Regions from separate parts of the Homo sapiens genome. Here all the other regions are linked to region 1. The links are contacts of gene promoters, found by promoter capture Hi-C in blood cells and fetal thymus (Javierre and others, 2016). All regions are on one chromosome and are shown on one strand. The core of a region is centred on a gene start or on the middle of the fragment in contact, and the rest is flanking DNA. Distances in the headings are between cores, read along the strand shown. Region 1 holds the start of SMU1 (SMU1 DNA replication regulator and spliceosomal factor). Region 2 overlaps NFX1 (nuclear transcription factor, X-box binding 1). Region 3 overlaps NFX1 (nuclear transcription factor, X-box binding 1). Region 4 has its middle 3.7 kb from the start of NFX1. Region 5 has its middle 19 kb from the start of SPINK4.

What was found. The method cuts DNA at HindIII sites, captures the fragments that hold promoters and counts their contacts. A CHiCAGO score of 5 or more calls a contact.
Region 2: a contact is called between a fragment that was not itself captured here and the fragment with the promoter of SMU1 in region 1, in 1 of 17 cell types (total B cells). The highest score is 5.3, in total B cells.
Region 3: a fragment that was not itself captured here is called in contact with the fragment with the promoter of SMU1 in region 1 in 2 of 17 cell types (total B cells and M0 macrophages); the score reaches 6.2 in total B cells.
Region 4: a contact is called between a fragment that was not itself captured here and the fragment with the promoter of SMU1 in region 1, in 5 of 17 cell types (naive B cells, total B cells, monocytes and 2 more). The highest score is 10.6, in naive B cells.
Region 5: a contact is called between a fragment that was not itself captured here and the fragment with the promoter of SMU1 in region 1, in 17 of 17 cell types (M2 macrophages, total B cells, total CD8 T cells and 14 more). The highest score is 37.1, in M2 macrophages.

The regions. Positions count from the first base shown.
Region 1 is chr9:33,075,365-33,078,066 of GRCh38, forward strand. It overlaps SMU1 (SMU1 DNA replication regulator and spliceosomal factor), which reads right to left and starts at 1,310. Exons shown (of 12, transcript NM_018225.3): 1 at 1,219-1,310. The coding sequence starts at 1,244. RefSeq lists enhancers at 1,172-1,321, 1,492-1,691. The HindIII fragment of the contact is 3,581 bases long and covers 267-2,702 here.
Region 2 is chr9:33,327,890-33,330,591 of GRCh38, forward strand. NFX1 (nuclear transcription factor, X-box binding 1) reads left to right here. Exons shown (of 24, transcript NM_002504.6): 10 at 692-789. Among named protein-coding and RNA genes, the nearest start is that of NFX1, 39 kb to the left of the region's middle. The HindIII fragment of the contact is 7,999 bases long and covers 1-2,702 here.
Region 3 is chr9:33,309,143-33,311,844 of GRCh38, forward strand. NFX1 (nuclear transcription factor, X-box binding 1) reads left to right here. Exons shown (of 24, transcript NM_002504.6): 6 at 1,964-2,035. Among named protein-coding and RNA genes, the nearest start is that of NFX1, 20 kb to the left of the region's middle. The HindIII fragment of the contact is 1,730 bases long and covers 458-2,187 here.
Region 4 is chr9:33,285,441-33,288,142 of GRCh38, forward strand. No RefSeq gene overlaps it. Among named protein-coding and RNA genes, the nearest start is that of NFX1, 3.7 kb to the right of the region's middle. The HindIII fragment of the contact is 404 bases long and covers 1,120-1,523 here.
Region 5 is chr9:33,219,702-33,222,403 of GRCh38, forward strand. No RefSeq gene overlaps it. Among named protein-coding and RNA genes, the nearest start is that of SPINK4, 19 kb to the right of the region's middle. The HindIII fragment of the contact is 3,336 bases long and covers 1-2,702 here.

The DNA.
Region 1 (2,702 bases), core at 60-2,559:
AGACTCCGTCTCAAAAAAAAAAAAGGGAACTGATTGCTGCTACCTGCAGTAGTCTTTTTCTCTCATGGCCCCTTTATGAGGTATGCAGGTATCCAGACTTAGACCCCTGTTATTCTGCTATGATACTATCTTCCTTAGCACATGTCCGTTGACTTCCATTTTACACTCCCAAAATAAGTCATCTCTCTCCTCAAACAGCTCACATTTGACATAGCCAAAATCAAATTCCCTACCTTCAAACAGAAATGAATACATAAAGAGCTAGAAGCTTTGAAGATAGTCTGGGATTTGAATCAAAGTTATGTGACCTTGGACAAGTAGGTTAACATCATTTCAGTATTTGCTGAATGCATAAACCTCCCTTCCTCCTATGAAAAGTCTCCAAAAAAGGTCCTCTCCCTCCCTTACACTCAGACACAATTTTTATGTCTGTTAATTTAATTATTATTAAGTGTTGGCAAGGACAGGTGGAGGATGGAGTTCTGGAAAAGCACACTAAGGTCTTCTTTAGTCACTAATTCTCATCCCCTATTCCTTGAAAATTTTTCTTTCTAGCCCAGTCTCCAGTCTGTCTCTCCCCAGACAACCCAAAATTCCGTGCCAGATCGGGCCTGATAGTTGTTCATTCATTCCAAAAGCTAGTTGTTCATTCATTCCAAAAGCAATTAACTCTTCCTCTAAGGTATGCTAGACACTGAGACCACAAGGAAAAGGAGCTCCTAGGCACCGACAAAGGCTAGTTTGGGGTGAGGTTATCAAACAGTGACAATACTGAGTGATAAACGCTAGGCAGAGAAAAGCAAAGGGGCCGTATAAGCAGAGACAACGAATCACATTGCATAAGCTGGACAGGGAGAGAAGCAAGGCTTAAAGAGACCTATCCCCTTGCGCAGATAATTAGACTGGAGTCCAGAGTGGATCCTTAATTTGGTCAATCACAGCGCGCCAGCAGTCGGCCAAGGACAGAACTTAGGTCTGCAAGGTGTGTTTTCCCCACCCGTGCCACCTCCCTCGAGGTTTTGGGCTTCACGTCTGAGAGCTGCTACTTTCCTGTGGGCCCACCTCCGAGGTAGCGAGATCCAAGATGCTTCTTTGGGGGCAAGGAAATGGCCCTCCACTCCCTGGCCTCTCGGATGCCTTCTCCCGAGTACCCTCCGCCCCACACCCTTAACCTCCAGGCCCCCGGCAAGGCGCGAACATCCCCACCGCAGGACTCACTCCGAAGATTCGATTTCGATCGACATAGCCGTATCTCTCCGGGAGCAGGCCCCAGCTCTCCCTCAAGGCCAGTCGCGCAACACACCAACGACACCTCCGGCGGACACCTAACGTCACTTCCGCTTGGGTCGGCGTCTGGCTCCCGCTCTGGAGATAGAGTGAACGAAGAGTAGGGGCGAGGTTCGCGTAGGGGCGGAGCCCTCAGGGGCTGTCAGAGGGCGGAGTTTATGCCCCTGCCCCAGAGAAATACGCATCAGGAGGAAGACTGTTTAAAAGCAGGCCGGAGCCGGGTGCGGTGGCTCACGCTTGTAATCCCAACACTTTGGAAGGCCGAGGCGGGCGATCACCTGAGGTCGTGAGTTCGAGACCAGCCTGACCAACATGGAGAAACCCCCGTCTCTACTAAAAATACAAAATTAGCCGGGCGTAGTGGCGCATGCCTGTAATCCCTACTCGGGAGCCTGAGGCAGGAGAATCGCTTGAACCCAGGAGGCGGAGGTTGCGGTGAGCCGAGATCGCGCCATTGCACCCCAGCATGGAAAACAAGAGCGCAACTCCGTCTCAAAAAAAAAAAAAAAAAAAAAAGAAAGATAGAAAAGAAAAAGAAAAAAAGCACCGGGCGCCATACAGCTCACAAATGTACTGAAAAAGAAAAGCGCTGGGGCGGAGCGCGGTGGCTCGCGCCTGTACTCCCAGCGCGCGAGTTCGAGACCAGCCTGGGCAACATGGTGAAGCCCCGTCTCTACTAAAAATACAAAAAATTAGCCGGGCGTGGTGGCGGGGGCGCCTGTAATCTCAGCTACTCGGGAGTCTGTGGCAGGAGAATCGTTTCACCTCTGGAGGTGGATGCGGTGAGCCGAGATCACACCATTGCACTCCAGCCTGGGCAAGGAGAGCAAAATTCCGTCTCAAAAGAAGAAAAGAAAAGTAGTGGTGATAAGATTGTAGTAAGAAAAGCAAAGAAAAGAAAGAAGAAAAGAAAGAAAAGAAAAGAAAGAAAAGAAAGAGCACTGGTTTGGAAAGATTGCTTTTTTTTTGAGACGGAATCTCGCACTGTCGCCCGGGCTGAAGAGCACAATGGCGCGATCTCGGCTCACTGCAAACTCTGCCTCCCGGGTTCAGGAGATTCTCTTGCCTCAGCCTCCGGAGTAGCTGGGATTACAGGTTTCTTGCCATCACGCCAGGCTAATTTTTTGTATTTTTAGTAGAGATGGGATTTCACTATGTTGGTCAGGCTGTTCTCGAACTCCTGACCTCGTGATCCGCCCGCCTCGGTCTCCCAAAGTGCTGGGATTACAGGCGTGAGTCACTGCGCCCAGCCAATGTTGCTTTCGTTTGATGTAATTAGTTGATTAGATTTAAGATGAGGCTGAATATGCAATACCTGATGGGATATTAATACATTCAAAACCAACATAACACTAGCCAAAATTTATAGGAAGAGTTAATTGAGGATTTTGGTTGGTTGGTTGGTTTTGCGTTTT
Region 2 (2,702 bases), core at 142-2,641, 250 kb after region 1:
ATCCCCAGATGACTTTCAGAGTCGACAGCATTCCACTAAAGTCATCCATGGCTACAGTTTTAGGGAGATTCAAGTCTACACTGGAGATGTGGGGCCTGAGGAAAAAGAAGATTTATTCTGTGTTTTTGTTATTTGTTTTGAAACAGGGTCTTGCTCTGTCACCTAGACTGGAGTTCAGTGGTGCGATCACAGTTCACTGTAGCCTCAACGTCCCATGCTCAGGAGATTTTCCCACCTCAGACTCCTGAGTAGCTGGGACTGTAGGCCTGCATCACCACTCCTGGCTAATTTCTTGTTTTTGTGCTTTTTTTTTTTTTGGTAGACACAGGGTTTCACCATGTTCCCAGGTGATCTCGAGCTCCTGGGGTCAAGCGATCCTCCCACCTCAGCCTCTCAAAGTGCTGGAATTATAGGCATGAGCCACCACACTTGGCCTTTTTTTGACTTAGGCAAATCGTCGTATACTTTAAAGCATATTCCAGTGTCTAAGCTGGGCCCTGAAGTTGTCAGAAAAGGCCCAGTCTGCCAGATGAAGGGAAGATAGGGAAGAAGCATTGACTGCATACTTCCCTCAACTCTGATTCTGGAGTTGCAGGGCATGGAGGGGAAGACCAGTGTGGCTAGCAAATTTGGGAGTATGAAAATGAGTAGTTGCAGTTTTCATTTCCAGCTCTTTTCGTTTTTATTAAAGATTTCATTCATACCTGTGAAAAGCTCTGCCATGAAGGAGACTGTGGACCATGCTCTCGCACATCAGTTATTTCCTGCAGATGCTCTTTCAGAACAAAGGTAAATCCTAAACAATGCTAGAGTTGTTGCCATCAATGTTTTCTTTAAAATGGTGATTATGGGAGGGGAGGAATCAAAATAACCTCAGTAGATTAGGTATGGGAAGTGGTTGTGGCACTCAAGGTCCAGAGGCCTATAGTGGGATAAGGCAAATATACAGATCACTCTACCAAATACAGGTGTGATAGTCTGAAAAGGGGAACAGTAGCACTGTTGCAAGGAGTCAGCCAACTAAGAAGTTAGAGGAAACACAGTCCATATGACCACCCACTTGTGGCACCAACTTTTGATACCAATTGAAAGTTCAGTGGTCCCTAAGACCACCTGCGAGGCTTGATAATTTGATAAAAGGACTCACCGAACTTGCTGGTGGTTACACTCATGGTTAGAGCTTTACTACAAGGAGGTTACAGTTTTATTACAAGGAAAAGGATACAGATTAAATCAGCCAAGGGAAGAAGTATGTAGGACAGAGTCCAAAAAAATACCAAAGGTGGAACTTCATTTGTCCTTTCCCTGTGGAGTCAGGAAAGTATTACTCTCTCCGCTTCAGTGTGTGCCAGCATACATGGAATATTGCCAACCAGGAAAGTTCACCCAGACCTGTGTGTTCAGTTTTTATTGGTGCTCTATTGTGCAATCATAGTTGACTGCCCATGTGGCTAATCTCAGTCTCCAGTCTCTCCCGAGGTGTACCGATACCATGTGACCCAAAACCCCTGCCCTAAAACTATCCAGTGTGGCCAGCCTGCTCCTAAATCACGTAATTGGACTATCCAGTGACTCAAGACTCCAGGCAAACAATGACACTTATATCAGGCATGGCATTCCACTAGGCTTAGAGATTACCTCTCAGAAGCCAAGCACAAAGGCCAGACTCTCTTTAAGTAAGGTTTAATTCTTCACTGTACATCTGTTTTGTCAGTTTCTACTTTCTGGTGAAAGCCTGGATGGTTTTTATTTTTCTTTTTTTTTTTTTAATTTTATTTATTTATTTTGAGACAGAGTCTCACTCCATCACCCAGGATGGAGTGCAGAGGCGCAGTCTTGGCTCACTGCAGCCTCCACCTCCCAGATTCAAGTGATTCTTATGCCTTAGCCTCTGGAGTAGCTGGAATTACAGGTGCATGCCATCACACCCGGCTAATTTTTGTATTTTTAGTAGAGACGGGATTTTGCCATGTTGGCCAGGCTGGTCTCAAACTCCTGACCTCAAGTGATCCTCCTGCCTCAGCCTCCCAAAGTGCTGGGATTACAGGTGTGCACCACCACTCCTGGCTAATTTTTGTATTTTTAGTAGAGGTGGGGTTTCACCATGTTGGCCAGGCTGGTCTTGAACTCCTGACCTCAGGTAATCTACCCGCCTCAGCCTCCCAAAATGCTGGGATTACAGACGTGAGCCACTGTGCCCAGCCTACCTTGGATAGTTTTCATCAGACTTTATGTTATAAAAAGTCTTCGGGTGATTCAGCTTGGGGAACACACTGAGTGTTGATTTATCCTGCTCTTTGACCTACTTAGTCATTTTAGTGTATATCAACATTTGTCCCAGTAGAGTACAAGCCAGGGTGGAGACAGAATTGTGAACCGTTGGTTCTGTTAAACACAATGCAGGGTCTGGCAGCATCTGACTTGCGAATAATTCTGAGGATATAGTCCATAAATGGGAAGCTAGTTTAATAGGAAAACTTCAGAAAAAAGGGAAAAGTAGTATAATTTACATGTTACAAAAGTTGTGTAATCATATATGGGTTTTTTCCTGAAAGAAATTACAATATACATAGGATAACAGAGGCATTTTTGAATGTCAGGTATGGGACCACTTTTGTACTTTGTAAATACTGTATTAAAGACTGAGATGCTGTGATTTGGCAATCATAAATTTAGTAATGCCCAGAGATGCTCTTTGTGAT
Region 3 (2,702 bases), core at 73-2,572, 230 kb after region 1:
GCCAGGAGATCGAGACCATCCTGGCTAAGACGGTGCAACCCTGTCTCTACTAAAAATATAAAAAATTAGCCGGGTGTGGTGGTGGGCACCTGTAGTCCCACCTACTGGAGAGGCTGATGCAGGAGAATGGCGTGAACCCGGGAGGCGGAGGTTGCAGTGAGCCGAGATCATGCCACTGCACTCCAGCCTGGGCTACAGAGCAAGACTCCGTCTCAGAGAAAAAAAAAAAAAACTTAATCCTCTGCATGGACTATTTTTCCAAACCCTTCATGACTACCAGAGATTAAAACTGTTGCAGATCAAGTGATCAGCACCATGTCTGAAAGAAAAGAACACCTTAAAACCTGCTCCTGCTCTTTTGTGGCTCTGGAGCTTTCACACTTGACTTGGGAACTTTCTTTTACTTTCAGGACCATAGAAGCCCATTCCCCAGTAGCACTTTTCTGGTCTCCAAGAAAGCTTTGCTTTCTCTCATTTACACTTGTTAGGACTCAAAAGTGACAGAGACAGGGTCTCGCTCTGTTGCCCAGGCTTGAGTGCAGTGGTGCTATCGTAGCTCACTGCACCCTTGAACTCCTGGGCTCAAGCGATCCTCCCACCTCAGCCTCCCAAAGTGCTGAGAGTACAGGCATGAGCCACCATGCCTGGTGTGAACATCAATATTTTTAAAAGCTCTCCAGGCACTTCCAATATATAGCCAGTGTTGTGGACCTCTGGTCTAAAAGTTAAGAAAACCTGAGATTGAGGAGATTGAGTCCAGGCTTCTGAGATATTTGACATAACCTAGAATCACCCACACCTGACAAGCAATGAAAATTGTTTCACCCGAAAGGATTGAGGTATATATAAAATATAACTGTTGAATAATGATACTCATCTTTAAAGAAACATGCTTAAACTTATGTCTCCTATGGGTATTGTCTATCAAAATGAGTCATCTTAGAAGACTAGACACTTGTTCCTGGATTGTTTTCAATGTTTAAACTTTATTTAAGAATTATCAGAGCTTGTTTAGGAGTTTCATAGAAACTAAACATTCCAGCCAGACCACTTTATAAGCACACTAATGTTTTACAGCAAATTCTGTTACCCATCTGATTAATTAGTCTTGGCTCTGATTGGCTTTTGATTCCCAAAGGGTTGTAATTTGCCACCTAGAATATACCCCTCCTACTCCAAAAACAGTTGTCGTAGAAGTTCCCAAAATGTTTTAAGTAGTGGTATTTCTGTACCACTGTGTAATTTGCCAAAGTGTCTGCTTTGAAGAGGGCAGTATATATTTGAATATACAAATTCCGTATTGTAACTTTTTTCTATTGGTCTCTATAATATAGCTCCTAAAATAGCATTTTTCAGAGGGCTAATTCTGACCTATAGCATATCACTCAGCCCAGTTCTTTCCATGACCCCCTTCCCTTTCATTCTCTCCATGTTACTCACTAGCATGCCTCCCCTCATGTCAGCCTTCTTTTCACTGTTCCATTGTTTGCCCAGTGCCTGATTATTACTTCACTAGCTGATAGTATGTCTGTACTTCTTACGGACCAGGTAGATTTGAGTTCTATTACTTTGCTTAGACTCTGATCTTCTACAGGACCCTATTAGCCATTCTGCCTTTTACCTGAGTAGCAAACTATTTTTATCCCCACACACTGCTGTAAGTGGGCCAAGACTGTATTTGAAAATGTCATCTTTGACTCTCAGACCCAAATATAACCAGTATTTTGACTTGGGATTTACTTCTGTGGTTAAATAGTCTGTGGTGATAATGATGTCGATTTTTTGCACATAAAAGTACAGTTGATATCTTTGTTCAAATAGTTTAATCAACTTTAAACAAATACAAAGACATGTCATAGTAGATGTATTTGTTGCCATATTCACAATAAGACCCAGCTGGGACAGCTTTGTTCGGGTTTGGATACATGGCTGTGGTTTATTCAGTGAAACCTTTCTCTTTCAGTCTCTGCCATCCAGGACCCTGCCCACCCTGCCCTGCCTTTATGACAAAAACATGTGAATGTGGACGAACCAGGTAAAGTTAAAATTACACCCTAAAGAAGACCTCAGTTTTCACATGCATGATTGACTTGTGAATTTCTGAAATAAAAGAATAGTAGGTAGATACAAATAAATGGTAGGCATGAATAGTACTTTTTTTTTTTCAGGAGTGAAAGTTTATTAAAAAGCTTTAGAACAGGAAGGAAAGGACAGAAGGAAAGTACAACTTGGAAGAGAGCCAAGTGGGCAACTTGAGAGACCAAATGTGCCATGGATAGTACTTTTCTGTAACTAGTAGTTCCCTGTGCTGCCCATGACCCTATTTTGTAATCTTATAAGTGATTAAGAAGTTATATGCACAATGAGATTGTGAGACTACCCATTATTTCGGGTAAAATACCAAAGTGACAAGGATTTTTTTTTTTTTGAGACGGAGTCTCGGTCTGTCACCCATGCTGGAGTGCAGTGGTGCGATCTCGGCTCACTGCAACCTCTGCTGCCTGGGTTCAAGCAATTCTCCTGCCTCAGCCTCCCAAGTAGCTGGGATTACAGGCGCCTGCCACCGCACCTGGCTAGTTTTTGTATTTTTAGTAGAGATGGGATTTCACCATCTTGGCCAGGCTGGTCTTGAACTATTGACTTCGTGATCCACCCGCCTCGGCCTCCCAAAGTGTTGGGATTACAGGCATGAGCTACCGCGC
Region 4 (2,702 bases), core at 72-2,571, 210 kb after region 1:
CAAGCGATCCTCTCGCCTTGGCCTCCCAAAGTGCTGGGATTACAGGTGTGAACCACCCCCACCCCAGCCCTGTTATTCTTTTTCCAATTTCTTAAGGTGGAAGTTTAGGCTATTGATTTGCAATTTTTCTTCTTTTTTATTAATAAACTTTATTTTTTTAGAGTTTTGGGTTCACAACAAATTGAGTGGAAAACACAGAGAGCTCCCATATAACACACAACCTTCCCGCTATCAGCTTCCCTCACCACGGTGGTATGTTGCAATCAGTGAATCTACACTGACACATTATTATCACACGAAGTCTATAGTTTACATTAGGGTTCACTCTTGATGTACATTCTATGGGGTTTTTTGTTGTTTTTTGCTTGAGATGGGGTCTCACTGTGTTACCCAGGCTGGAGTGCAGTGGCATGATCTCAGCTCACCACAACCTCCGCCTCCCGGGCTCAAGTGATCCCACCTCAGCTTCCTGAGTAGCTGGGACCTCAGGCGCATGCTACCATGCCCAACTAATTTTTGTATTTTTAGTAGAGATGGGGTTTCACCACGTTACCCAGGCTGGTCTTGAACTCCTGGGCTCAGGCGATCCATCCGCCTTGGCCTCCCAAAGTGCTGGGATTACAGGCATGAGCCGCCATGCTAGTGATTCTATGGGTTTTAACAAATATAATGACATGTATCCCCCTTTGTAGTATCATGCAGAATAGTTCACTGCCCTAGCAATAGTTCACTACCCTAGCAGTCCTCTGTACTCTGCCTATTCATCCTTCTCTCCCCTTTAACTCCTGTCAACCACTGATCTTTTTACTGTCTCTATAATTTTGCCTTTTCCAGACTGTTACATAGTTGGAATCAAATAGTAAATGGTCTTTCCAGATTGCCTTCTTTCACTTAGCAATATGCATTTAAGTTTTCTCCATGTCTTTTCATGGCTTGATAGTTCATATGGATTTGGGATTTTTTGTCTTGTTTGGTGTTTTTGAGACAGGATCTCGCTCTGTCACCCAGGCTGGAGTGCTGTGGTGCAATCTTGGCTCACTGCAGCCTCCGCCTCCTGGGCTCAAGTGATCCTCCCACTTCAGCCTCCTGTGTAACTGGGACTACAGGTATGCACCACCAAGCTTGACTAATTTTTGTATTTTTGGTAGAGACTGGGTTTCGCCATGTTGCCCAGGCTGGTCTCGAACTCCTGGACTCAAGCGATCCACCTGCTTTGGCCTCCCAAAGTGCTGAGATTACAGGCATGAGCCACCATGCCTGGTCTTTGGGTATTTTTTGTTTGTTTGTTTTTTGATAGTATCTCGCTATGTTGCCCAGGTTGGGCTTGAAATCACCTGGGCTCAGACAATCCTCTTGCCTCAGCCTCCCAAGTATCTGAGACTACAGGTAAACACCAACATGCTGGCTTCATTTGTTTTGGGCACTGAATAATATTCCATTATCTGGAGTTCTTTTTCAAATATAAGTGTTTACAGCTATATATTTCCATCTTTCACCACCTGCAGCTTTCACCACCTGCCATAAGCTTTAGTATGTTGCATGAAATAGTTTGTATAGGAAAGGCAAGATAAATGCTTGCTTACTTTCATTTATTCACAAGTTTTGAAAATAATGAGTAGATTCTGTAGAGTGCCAATTATGAATTTGCTTTCAGTTCTACATTTATTGTTTTTGCTTGCTCTGTGAAATGGATTTCGGCCTTTTATTTATTCTTTGCCAGCTGGCAGATATTAAACCTTGTCAGCAGAGGGCACTGGAGAGATACTGCAGGAGGAAAAGGGTTTTGGCTCCTGTTTCTGATTTCAGTGGGGCAGGCTTCTGTAGTCTGGGCAACTTCTTCAATGGCTTCTGCAATGCACTGGCTTCTTCAGTGCCTGGCTATCGCACTATATAGTGACCAGTTGTCAGAAACTTCTCCTAGCACTCCCCGCAGATGGTTTGTAGTAGAGTACCTCTGGTGAGACACCTCCCCAAGAATGGCTTCAACCAGCACTCCGTAAGAAAAATGTCTGGCAACTTCCATGCCATCCAGTGAGCCACAGGTCTTTTCTCTAACGAGGTCTGCAGGCCAGCTCTGGTCTCGGCTCTTCTTTGACACTCTTACCTCAGCCCTAGCTGCTCTTTATATATGGTAATCCTGTTTTGGAATTATCTTGCTTCTTTACTAGCCAATCCATTATTATTCCAACCCCCTATTATACTTAATAAATCTTTAAATAAAACTTTCCTTATTAAAAAAATGTAATTCCTGTTCAAAAAGTGGGGTTCTTCTCTCCTGATTGGACCCAGACTGATACACCTGGTAATTTTTAAAGGTGACTATAAAGTTTGATGAGCTGTCAAAATTAAGGATTTATGTTCAACAAAGGACAAAATTAATATTTAATGGAATAGAAGACAATTTAAATGTCTAAAACTGACGAGTGACACCTGTAATATACAAGAAACCATCAGGAAGAAAAATGGGCAGTGGATATGGATAAGCAGTTTTAAAAGGAGGAAACTCAAAAGACCATCATTAAATGTTTGGCCCGGCACGGTGGCTCACGCCTGTAATCCCAACACTTTGGGAGGCCTAGGTGGGTGGATCACCTGAGGTCAGGAGTTCAAGACCAGCTGGCCAACAGGATGAAACCCCGTCTCTACTAAAAATACAAAAATTAGCCGGGCGTGGTGGTGGGTGCCTGTAATCCCAGCTACTT
Region 5 (2,702 bases), core at 130-2,629, 140 kb after region 1:
CAGGCTGGAGTGCAGTGGTGTGATAACAGCTCACTGCAGCCTCGACCTCCCAGACTCAAACAATCCTCCCAACTTAGCCTCCCAAGTAGTTGGGACCACAGGTGCATGCCAATACATGTGGCTAATTTTTTAAAATATATTTTGTAGAGATGGGTCTCCCTATATTGCCCAGGCTGGTGGCAAACTCTTGGGCTCAAGCGATCCGCACACTTCAGCCTCCCAAAGTGATTACAAGTGTGAGCCACTATGCCCAGCCTCTTTTTCCTTTCCGGTTTTTTTTTTTTTTTTGGCAGGTCAATTGTTACACACTCCTTAGCAGATTCAGACTTTCAGACTTACATGGAACACCAACCTGCTTATTTTGTTTTTTATTTTTGCTTTATTTTTTTTTCTTTTTGAGGCAGGGTCTCACTCTGTCACCCTGGCTGGAGTGCAGTGGTGAGATCTCGGCTCACTGCCACCTCCACCTCCCGGGTTCAAGCAATTCTCCTGCCTCAGTCTCCTGAGTAGCTGGCATTACAGGTGCACACCACCACGCCCAGCTAATTTTTGTATTTTTAGTAGAGACGGGGTTTCACCACATTGGTCAGGCTTGTCTCAAACTCCTGGCCTCAAGTGATCCATCCACCTCAGCCTCCAAAAGTGCTGGGATTACAGGCCTGAGCCACCACACCTAGCCTTATGTTGTTTTTTAAGAAAACACACACATTATGTTATGCTCACGTTATCAGAAACAAATGAGACTGACCCTGGCAAGTCCCAACCAAGGAATCTGTCTCCAGATATGCCTTGGCCTGGTTGACTCTTGGAGTTAACCCTTCAGAAAGCAGGAGGCAGAGACCCTTCTGATGAGGGCTGCCTCTAGGAGTGGGACTGCTTCAGTGGATCCAGCTGAATTGTCCTGAGCAACTGTTGTAGAGATATGGGGAGTACTTAGTCTTCCAGCTGAGGCCAGGTTGGGCCACTGTGCAGTGGGCTGCTGGAAGACAAGTTGAGTCCAAACTAGCCCAGTTCTTGAGGAGCAACCACGTGACTCTATCACCGTGATATGCACAGGTTGTGACTGGTGTCCTCAGACTGGAAAACACAGTAGTGCCAGCTCAATCAGGATAGGAGAGAGACGTATACGTTGACATTTGTCTTCCTATCCGGATGAGTGTGGTCCTGCCTTTGGGCCTTTCCTTGGGCCCTCCCCTCTATGTGAAATGCCATCTCTACTAGCGAGATTCCTGTCTGATTTATTTGTTTAGGTAGAATAGCAAGAAGTCTACATCCTGATGATCCTGGGCATTGGGAGCTCACCTCACCTTCTCTGGACTCTGGAGGGCACACACATATGGTCCCTGCTGGGGGATGCTTCGCACACAGACCGTCTTCCAGAGGCAGGGGCAGGGAAACTGCTGTCAGGTGGGTGTTGGGATCTCTTTATATTTAGTTTTGTTGTGCTGTGGTTATTGATGTTGCGGTTTTCAGTTTCCTTCCCTCGTAGTTACTCCCCACCTGGGCTAGCCACTCTCTACCCATCACAGGCCCAAGTCTGTGAGAAGGGGCTTCTCTTAGGTCCTCACCAAGGCCCCTTCCCAAGGTCCCTTCCCAAGGCCCAACCTGCCCACAGTCTCACCGAGGCCAGCAGGGCCCAGGTCTGGGCCCAGGTCCAGTCCCAGGCAAGGGTATTGTGTGTGCTTCCTGATAGGTCAGGCCGCCCTGAACCCTCCAGGCACACTGGCCCTAAATGTGTCTGCTTCCTGAAGGGTCAGGCTGCCCTGAACCCTCCCTGCGCTTCCTCTTGTGACCAGTGTTGAAGATCAAGAGGAAGAGGAAGAGGCCAAAAATTCTTCACACAGAGCCCTGGGCTCCGAGCCCCTGTGGCCTGTCACTTACCTGGTCCACAGCAGAGGTGGTGTCTCTAGATGAGGGTAATGGGAAGCATCCTTCCCTCATGCCCTGCTCCCTTCCTCCGAGCCATACCCATTACACTGAGCCAGTCACGGCAGACATCTAGGCAGAAGGGACCACAGGGGTGGCCTCGTTGCCTGTCCTTGCTCCCTCCACACTGCATATCTGCAGTCTAACCTGCTGAATCACAGTCCTTGTTAGGTGAGGGCCAGGACAGGAGAGAAGACACTTCACTTGTTGCCACTACCAGTCTTTCTATACCCTATCTTTGTATTCTGTCTGCCTGGCCTAGTATGGAGCCCACTAGGTCAGCCTTTGACCAATACCCCACACAGAAGTATATTTTGGTTCTGTTTACATTCTTGTCAGAAAGCCCGCTATTTTAAGTCAGCGCCTCTCAAACGTGAATGCGCATAAGGATCACCCAGGGATCTTGCCACAGCCTAAGTCCTGATTTGGGAGTTCTAGGTCAGGACATTCTGCATTTCTAACAAGCTCCTGATACTGCAAAGATGGAAGGGACCCAGGCTTATTTCTAGGCTCAGATGAGGTCTTGCTTGTTCTGTGAAGATTATCAGAGTGCTGATGTCAGAATTAATCACTTCATCCATCATTTCCTGAACACCTGGCTCAGCCGTTGTCCCAGGTGCCAGCACAGTCTGCCCACATCTGCTCCCTGACTAGTCTGGGGGCTACTGGGACACGTAGTCTTTGTAGCCGTACTCCCTAGCATGGAGGATGCTCAGCAGTTTGTTTGAGCAAATTAATGAACAAATTAATGGCATTTGAAGGTGATTTGCAAAAGG